Linked DNA regions of Homo sapiens: region 1 is linked to region 2. The links are contacts of gene promoters, found by promoter capture Hi-C in blood cells and fetal thymus (Javierre and others, 2016). All regions are on one chromosome and are shown on one strand. The core of a region is centred on a gene start or on the middle of the fragment in contact, and the rest is flanking DNA. Distances in the headings are between cores, read along the strand shown.

Region 1 (4,843 bases), core at 771-3,270, 570 kb before region 2:
CTGCTGGGATGCGTCTAGAACAATCTCCCTGAAGACGTCATTTCGGTATGGCCTGGACTCGAAGCAGGCCTGTGAGTGGGGTGCATGCTCTGCTCTCTGTGGCTGTGTCAACTTCAAACTTCTTTATGTTTGGACACAGAAAAACTACATCATTAGTGAAATAAAACAAGGGACAGACAGATGCGTCTTTTTCTCAGGAGGTCGTGTTTGATTGACTAAAACAGCAAGGAAACTTTTATTGGGTCTGGCCTCCTGTGCATTCTACACAATGTGGGCCGTTTTTGTCACAGCCCGGGGTGTTCACCATCTTTATTTCTACAAGAGCTCCCTTTGTGTTCTGCCCTCCACTTGCCTGGGTGCTCACAGGGGAGGCTGAGGGTGCAGCATGGGTCCTTCCTGCCCTGTCTCTGCATTCACACTATAAAAGGCACTCACAGAGCCACCACCACAGCCCCAAACTGCAATCATGAAATAACACCTGCACTGGATCAGGGGGCTAGAAGAGATGAAAGACCGATGGACTGTCACTACACCGTGCTGGGATCTCTGCCTGCAGCATGAGGCACCACATGTGTGGGCTGTGGGAGCAGGTGTGACCTGTGGGCTGGGGCATGAGACTCCCCACTGGGGAGACCCCATCCCCTGCTGGACCAGCTTCCTCAGCATCACCATCATGGACAGACTCCACTTTGCTCGTGGCCCTTCTTTTGGGGCCCCATTAAATCGGGGGAGCCTACTTCTCCCACTGGCAAAGTCCTCTTCTCTCCTCTACGTGATCAGAAACAAGAATAGGAGAAGCCAAAAAAGGCCTGCAAGGGGAGTGTCTCAAATCCCTATGTCCGAGGCCCTGTACGGGCAGCTCCGCTGTGCTTGGAAGGATTGGGGTATGTTATGGCAGGCTACAGGATAACCCCCAAAGATGTTCATGTCCTAATCCCCGGGACCTGGGAATATGCAACTTTATGTGGCAAAAGGGACTTTGCATGTGTGGTTAAGGCTCTTGAGATGAGAATTGATCCTGGGTTATTGGGTGGGCCCAGTGTCAACACAAGGGCCCTTGTAGGAGGGAGGCAGGAGAGTCAGAAGCAGAAGGCGATGTGGCTGTGAAGGCAGAGACTGAGAGAGCTTGGAGGCTGCTACGCCGCTGTACTTGAGGAGGGAGGATGCAGGTGGCCTCTAAAAGTGAGAAAAGGCAAGGATCCTCCCCTGGAGGCTCCAGAAGAAACATAGCCTGCTGAGAAAATGCCAACCTCCAGAACCGTAGGAGAGTCAGCGTGTGTGTGTGTGCATGTGAGCGTGTGTGTGCCTGTGTGTGCATGTGTGTTTGTGTGTGTGCATTGCATGTGTATGCCTTTGTGTGCATGTGTGCAAGTGTGTGCATGTGTTTGTGTGCTCATGTGTGCATGTATGCATGCACGCGTTTGTATGTGTATGTGTGTTTGCATGCTTGTGTACCTGCGTGTGTGTGCATGTGCGTGTGCATGTGTGTGCGCATGTGTATGTGCACGTGTTTGTGTGTGTGCATGCTCGTGTGTGCCTGTCTTTGTATGCATATGTGCATGTGTGTATGTGCCTGTGTGTGTGTGTGTGTGTGTGTGTGTGTAAAGTTTGTGTTCTTTCCATGACCCCCAGGTTTGTGGTCATTGGTTACAGCAACCACAGAGACATAGTAACATGAATGTTGACAGCACGGAGCAGCAACCCAGTTTTGACCTGGTCGATGGTTTTCTGGGACCATTTTATTGACTATTACACCTGTTTTAGCCCATGTGGATATGGCTAAAGAGTGATGGACCCAGAAAAAGAAAAAACGATTGGGAATTTAATGATTAGACCATGGAAAATGAAGTGGTTAGATCCTTCGTGTGTGGTGAGTCTTTAATTCCTGGAAGTTAGAGTCCCGGGCAGTTGTGTCCCCAGCTGCAGACACTCGGTGTACATGCTGCAGGGCGGCATCCTCACCCAGCCACCTGCCCTGTGCTCCCCGCAGCTGGGCTGGTGGACGATGGGTCCACAGATGGGAGTTACAAAGGCGAAAGCCGGAGGGAAATATTCCGGGATATAAAAGTGCGTCTCGTGCTTCTACAAATCACATTGGGTGAGACTAAGACGCCTCTGGAAACAGCAGCATCTCCCAGCCTCTGCACATGGTTTCTGCCTCTCCACTCTGAGGTTATGACAACATCACCGTGGCTCTCAGTTGCCTGAGATCCAGTTCCTCCAGTTAAATGCTGCGTTCGCCCCGTGGGTCAGGGTCTTCACCGGTGGGTTCACCAACTCCCATTTTCCTTCCTCTTTATTTTCTTCACAGAAGCACATGCCCAGGGAAGGGATCTGGAACAGAGTTTTAAATCACTTGTTAATATCTTATAGCAAGTCCATCAATTTCAGACTAGCTCCAAAGCCAACTGTCAGGCACACCTCTACTTTGGAGGGTCTGCGACTGCCCAGGCTGGCACTGCCACCATTGAATGGCACCAACATCTGCCCTGGCGGTGCCCCGTGGGGGATGTCCCCTAGCCAGGGGACACTGGGTAATTCCGGAGACATTTCTGATTGTCACAACTGAGGATGGAGGTGCTGCCGACACCTAGCAGGTAGAGGTCCTACAAGGTGGTACATCCTACAATGAGTAGAACAGCCCCCACCACAAAGGTCTGCAGGCTGAGGTGGAGATTGCCATCCACCACTTAAGGAGTGACTCATATTCTCATATTCAGCATCACAAAAAGACACAGACATTGAGTTTTCAGACCCAAAAGAAAAGCACAAAGTGAACCTTTAGACCTCCATCCCTTCATCTGTGAAATGGATGTGTGAGAACAGAGCTTTGTGGTGAAGCCTTTTTTGTTTTTGTCTTTTCTTTTCTTTCTTTCCTTCCTCTTTCTAATGTCTAGAAATTCCTCAGGCAGATGAAATTTACAAAAATGCCAACTGGCAGGGGGGTCTGAGTGAGGCTGGTGTTGACCCTAGGGTGATTCTTTCCTCACGCTTGCAGAGGCTGTGGGCGAGGGGCGGTGATGGGCTGGTCGGGGAGGGTCCTGAGTGCTCCCTTTCCAGCTGCCCTGATTTGGGGGCCCATCATTTGGTAGAGCCCCCCCTTTGTATTTTCTGATATGCATGAGCAAGTCCAGCTTATTTTGGGGTAGGGGCAGGGTGAACGCCACGTGACCAGCATAAGAAAGTCCAGGAGTTTGGAAGTTCAAGATTGGCATCTATGGAAGGGGGTGAAGGGTCCAAGGAGTGGGTGGAGCTTTGGCCACAAAGGCTCATGGGTTTGAGGAACTGTCAGCAGCTGGTGTGTGCAGTGCTGCCACCCTTGGTTACGTGGGCCCCCAGGAGCGCCTGGGGCTGGAGGCTTGGTATGTGTATATGGGACTGTGGGAAGCGGGGCAGGGACAGGAGGAATGCATCAGAGCGCATGTGTGGGAGACCCATTTGCAGAAGCAAGAGCAACATTTTGGGAGCAGGTGGTGCCGGGGCTGCCCCGGACAGTCCCCAGGAAAATCCATGCAGACCTCTACCAGTGTGGCCCAGGGGGGTTGAGCTGCCCTATTTGGACAATGCTCACCTGGTGGCTCAAGAATCCAGGGCGCTCGGAAATGTCTGGATCATAATTGGGACACACCACCCTGGAGACATTTTGCAGGGGAAGCATGTTTCTACTCAGGTGCAGAGGAAAATGGAGCAAGAAAGGGAGATTCGGGTGTCTGATGCCTAATTGCTGAGTGACAATGACCCACGGCAGGCATGCTCTTCATGTGCGTAACCTCTCATCTGGCTGCTGAGGCAGGCGTAGCTAGAGAGCTAAGCCCTCCTGCAGGCACCTGGCTGGTGTCACTGGGCTGGGCCCGGGAGTTGGGCTCCTCTGAAGCCCCTGACCTCTTGGGGGGACTCAGCAACCCCCACTGCTGCCCACAACTTATGGCAAACAAGCTGTGGCCAGTGTGGTCCTGTGGCAGTGCTATGTGAAGAAACCAGGTCAGGGCCTCAAGCACCTCCGATGACAGGCATTGTCTATGCTGCACGTGCTGCCTGGGCACTGACCAGTGGACTGATGAATTTCATAAAAAGGTCAGGACTGTGGTGAGTCCAGCCTTGAGTAGATCTGCAGGGAAGGGCTGGGACTGGGGTGGGATCTGCACTCCTGAGTTTGCCTGCCTCAATTCACCCATGGACTGGACATCACCCTCTGGCTTTGCTGAGTGATAATCAAGGTTGTCCAAGATGTCACGTGTGCGTTATCCTCTGTTTGTCATTCACAAGGCCCTTGCCAGAGCCTGAGCACTCTGGCAGCTACAACCAGCTCAAGCTTCTTCCATGCTGGGTGACTCCAAGGGCAAGAGGATCAAGGGGCTCCTTTTCATCCATCAGCCGCCCTGCCCCAGGTCCCCAGAAGAGGCCAGAATCGAGTCCCACAGTCGTTTCTTCCCTCCTCATCTAAACTGCTTACTCCTTCCTGGACCGTCTGTTTTTCTACGAGAGCTGCAAGGGGTCATGGCATGAGCTGACTGGTAAAAAGTTGGCAAGTGGCCAATGATGATGAGGTTGACTGACCTATCCACCAGCCCCAGCCCGAAGTCACCCTTCGCATAAGAGCCGGTGGGCACAGTCTCCGGGGGCACGTGGATCCTGGTGGCCCTGGGTCAGCCGGACACTTGTTTTCATTCCGAGAAGTGGATGAGATAAACCTGTGTCTTCGGGATGCTTGATTTTGTGGCCCAAAGAGCCAAGAGTGGGCGCGTACCTTTCTCACGAGTTGGGCAAAATCCCCACATTCCCGGGGCGGCAGCCCGAGCAGTGGCCGCGTGCAGGAGTCCAGAGTGGAGCCGTGACTCACAAT
Region 2 (4,675 bases), core at 50-2,549:
GATGATCACATATGCCATTCATACAAGCGAGTCCGTCTCTGGCACCATTCCTGCATGTGGGTCAAAGGCTATGTGCATTTAGAATTTTTATGGATATCCACAAATATCTGAATGGAAACTACGCTAATTTATTCTCCTACCCGTAAAGGAGCTTGTTTCTCTAGTTTCTTCAAAATTATGCTATTAAAACTTTTTTTTGTTTGTTTTTGTTTGAGACAGGGTCTCACTCTGTTGCCCAGGCTGGAGTGCAGTGACACGATCACAGCTCACTGCAGCCTCAAACTGTGGGACTCAAGTGACCCTCCTGCCTCAGCCTCCTGAGTAGCTGAGACTACGGGCACGTGCCACCGAGCCCAGCTAAGTTTTTTAGAGACAAGGTCTGGCTATGTTGCCCAGGTTGTATTAAACGTTTTAAAAAATCTTTGCTAATCTAATAAAAATGATCCCACTGCGACTTTTTTTCTCTTATTGCAGCGTAGTTGAATAGCTTCTCATATGCTTAAGAACCATTGAATTTCCTACGAACTGTCCATCCACACACTTTGCTCATTTTTCTATATACATATATATTTTTATTGGTTCACAAGAGTTTCACGTACATGAGGGAAACGAGCCCTTTTGTGGCATCAATTTAAAATCATTTTCCCCGGTTCATCACTTCTCTTTATGAATGTAGGTTTTTGCCAGGCAGCAATGAACAAGACAGTCGGCCTCTCTGAATATGGGCGGCCAGGACTAAGGTGAAAAGTCTGTCCCTTCTCCGTCTCACGTTTTGTGATGGCACACACACTTGGTGGAGGGGGTCAAGAGAGGCCACACAGGCCCCCGGGGAAGAATGGAGAGCCAGGTCCGCGGCTGGCCCGGTGCTCACCGGTAGCGTGGCGGAGCCCGCCAGGCCAGACTCCCCTCGCGGGCACAGAGCTCGTGTCCCAGGGCCCCGCCGGCCAAATCCAGAGGTCACCGTGAGTGGGGGCAAGTCCCAGGCCTGTTCTAGAGAAAAACTCGACCCACCCACCGCCACCACTCCCCAACTCCGCAAGAAACGCGTCCGAGGAGAGGTGGAGAGGGAGCTGCCCGCGCGCGTGGGCGGCAGGGCCGTGCCACGTGGGAGGGGGGCCGCGCGCGGAATTCCCTCCGGCCAGACCCGCCCCGCGCGCGCCCGCTGCCCCGTCCACGCCGCCCGCGCCCCGCAGTCCCACCCGCAGGACCCCCGGCCGCGCCAGGGTCTCGCCTGCGCCCCCCGCGCCCGCCCGCGGACTACAAGTCCCGCCATGCCCCGCCGCCGCCCCCCGGCTTCCGGTGCTGCGCAGTTTCCGGAGCGGATCGCAACCCGGAGTCCGGATCCGATCCCGCTCTGCACATTCCAAAGGCAGGTAAAGCTCCGGGCCCTGCGCCCGCCGCCCGCCCCGGCGTGCGCCCCGCCGGCCCCGGGCCGCACCCGCTGCCCCCGCGAGCCCCGGCGCGCCCTGGGCCCGCTGCCCCCCGCCCCCCGCGCCCGGCAGCCGCGCGCCGCCCCGGTCCAGCCGCCATGCCGACTGTTCTTTGTTACATTCGCCGGCTGCGGGCACCGTTGGCGATCGGAGTCAAAACCCGGCTGGATTTCCCGGAGCCGCTCCGGGATCGCCCTGCGCGCCGCCCGCCCGCCGGGTCCCGCCGCCGCGGGCGCTCCTGGCCGGGCTCCGCGCCCCCGTCCCCTGCCTCGCGCCCCCCGCCCGCCCGCGGCCAGGCCCAGCGCGGGGCCGCGGGGCTGCCGGGCCGCGCTCGCCCGTGGGCGCGGCGCAGGGTCTTCGCCGCCCCGGCCCGCGGCCCCGCGGCCCCCGCCGCCGGGCGGCGTCGTCGCCGAGGCCCCAGGGGATGTCGTTATCCCCCGCCCTCGGGTACAGCCCATGCGGGTCGCACGGGGGGGTCCCTGGACCCCCAACCCCGCGTTTAGAGAAGCTGAGTCCTGGTGATGGGGTCTCCCAGACCCCCTGCGCCTTATTTTCGTAAGCCTTTTGGTGGCAGAGAGAAGGTAGCGAGGTGGATGGACAGGTGACGCGTGCCTACCCGGGGTGGGTGGCCGTTCGGGGACGGGGCGTGCCCGGCCGCTCAGGTGAGGCCCGCCTCGCGTGGACAGGTGGGGACGGGGGCCACGCGCAGCGTCCTGCTAGAGGGGAGGTGTTCACGCAGGGGTTAGCCTTGAGAAAATAGAAATGAAAACTCATGGAAATAAACACTCCTATCTGGTGGTTAGAGTTATCACCCATTTACCTTTCTTAACCCCCTAATGTAGTGGATGGTTTTTTCCCCCACAAATGCTCAGAAATTGCCCCTCACCCCCAAGTCCCCAAAGGGAGTTTAAAACGGTAGAAACAAGTGTGTGATCAGAGACACGTGGACCTGTGTGTGTATTTAAAGCTACCAACACTCGTTTTAAAAAAACCACATTGGCTTAAGCCAGACTCAAGTGAATTTGGAGAACCTAGCTTGGTTCCTGAAGGGTGGTGACATGTGAAGGAGCCACTGGCTTTGTGATGTACCTTAAAAGGTAGCAGTGACAGTTCTCCTTGGAGAATGCAATGATGTCAACACTCGATAAGGGTGGTGATCCCACCCCGGTGCACACACCACTACCGTATTTTGTTTCAAGCTCGGACATTTTCACGTGTTCCACGTTTTCACTGCTTCACTCCTTCCCCAGATTTCCTGACATCGCTGCCTCACGGTGAACGATTAAGAAATAGTAGCTCTATAATTTAGACTTTCAAGAGCAAAAACACCATTTTTTTTATAGTTTGTTTTTCTTCTATCTGTGATTCATACTTTTTGCCGCAAAGTAGCCAGCAAAGAACAAGCTAAATGTTCCATTTTGGAAGCAGGCGGGACGGTTATTTCTCCAGAAGACAAATAAATAAATTTAAAAATCAACTGTAGTTGGAAGGCTGCTAGCTTGTCTTAGAATAATTATATTTGACAAAGAACTCTTTTCACTTAGGATGTGGCTCTCATATCATTTTCGATGTCATTATCTGTACAGAAGGCCAGGAAAGAACAGTCCTGCCATTTTGCAGATTGAAGGGAGATTTAAGGCAACTGTGTCTTCCACCCGTGCGCTCAAGAGGTTGGGATGGTGAGCGGTGACTTAAATGATTTTTCAGACTCCGTTCCTCATTTGCAAAGTGTGGATGGCCCTGCTCAGCTCCCCTCACAGTGCTGGTGTGGGCAGATATTCATTCATTCGGCCATTCATGCATTCTTTCCACCAATGTTTACTGAACACCTGTTATGTGCCCCCACGCTGTAGTGAATGGAGAGAGGGCTGCACCTGGTGGACCTAATGTTCTGGGCAGGGGAGTGGAGGTGGTGTAGACAGAAAATCATAAAACTCTCAGGTAAGACGATGGGAAGAGCATGAAGAAAGGAAGGAGGGCAGGCAGGTGGCGGGCAGGGGATGGGGCACTTGGGGGCTGGGACTAGAAGGGGCTGTCTGAGGAGGGGCCACAGTGGAGACCAGTGCTGTGAGGGAGCCTCTGGTGGAGGTGGGTGCGGTGGTGCCTGCCCCCACCAGGCAGATGGTGGCAAATGCAAAGGCCCTGGGGTGGGATGAGCCCAGGATGGGACAGGCCAGTGTGGCCATGGAGGTGGGGCAGCAGGGGCCATGCACCAGGCAGAGATTTTCTTCTGACTGCCTTGTGGATGCCACTGAGGGGCTTTGAGCAGTGGCGGGGCAGAGTCTGCATCTTTTGGCTGTGTGTGGGGAATGGAGCTGGCATCACTGGAATCCAGGCCCTGCATGATTCCACTCCACAGAACTCGGAGGCAGAAGGGGAGATGGGGCAGGACAGAGCCTAGTTCCAGAGCCAGGCAGGCCTGCTGCTGGTTTGGTTGGAAATGCATGGTGGGTGACTGGAGCTACTATTTACTGAGGTGCAGGTGACCTGAGGCATTCAGGGGCCCTGTAGAGCAGACATCTTCAAACTCTCCCTCAGAGTGGGAGAAGACCCTGCCCCGGGGCCACGTCCGCTCCTCAAAAGGCTCCTCCTAAGGAAAGGTCCCTCCTCTTGCAGTCATGGCCCTGGGGTGTGGAAACTGCGGGGTCCCAGCAGATGTAAGGGTGTTGGGGAGTGGCTCCCCCGTGGGCCACAGGTCTGCAGCAGCTGCGGGAGCCTCTACACCAGCGGTGTTCATGGTGATCGTTGATGACAAGTTGATCTTTGATGAATTCAGGCTCAGAACTCAAGAGGATGTGGCATTGGGGGACTCTGCTGTGACCAAGCCCCTTCTGCTCCCGTCTCCTTATTTCTGGAACCAGCTTCTCTGTGCTCGCATTTCTAGAAAGAGGAATAGGGACAGAGGCGAGCATTTGTCCATGCTATGTGAACTGATTAGGGGAAAAAAGCTCTTTCTCTTCTATTAAACACAGCTTTTATATCAGATGATGATTTATCGAAGTGGAGACTATTTCTGTTTTGATCAGTGGTGTTCCAATTGTAGTCACACTGTGAAAAGGAGATATGGTTCAATGGTGGACCGCATATACCATGCTGGTCCTGTAAGATGATAGGACCGCATTTTTTACGTTACCTTTTCTATGTTTAGATAAGCAAATACTTACTATTGTGTTACAGGTACCTACAGTATTCCGTTAGTTAAGTGCTGTACAGGTTTGCAGCCTAGGAGTCGTAGGCTGGGCCGT

Evidence for each region. The method cuts DNA at HindIII sites, captures the fragments that hold promoters and counts their contacts. A CHiCAGO score of 5 or more calls a contact.
Region 1: a contact is called between a fragment that was not itself captured here and the fragment with the promoter of PRDM15 in region 2, in 1 of 17 cell types (M0 macrophages). The highest score is 5.1, in M0 macrophages.

What each region holds. Positions count from the first base shown.
Region 1 is chr21:42,444,548-42,449,390 of GRCh38, reverse strand. It overlaps UBASH3A (ubiquitin associated and SH3 domain containing A), which reads right to left. Exons shown (of 15, transcript NM_018961.4): 14 at 4,748-4,843; 15 at 1,707-2,334. The coding sequence ends at 2,197. Among named protein-coding and RNA genes, the nearest start is that of UBASH3A, 43 kb to the right of the region's middle. The HindIII fragment of the contact is 4,588 bases long and covers 1-4,314 here.
Region 2 is chr21:41,875,968-41,880,642 of GRCh38, reverse strand. PRDM15 (PR/SET domain 15) reads left to right here and starts at 1,299. Exons shown (of 24, transcript NM_001040424.3): 1 at 1,299-1,373. RefSeq lists a silencer at 1,176-1,225 and enhancers at 1,376-1,425, 2,426-2,475. The HindIII fragment of the contact is 16,753 bases long and covers 1-4,675 here.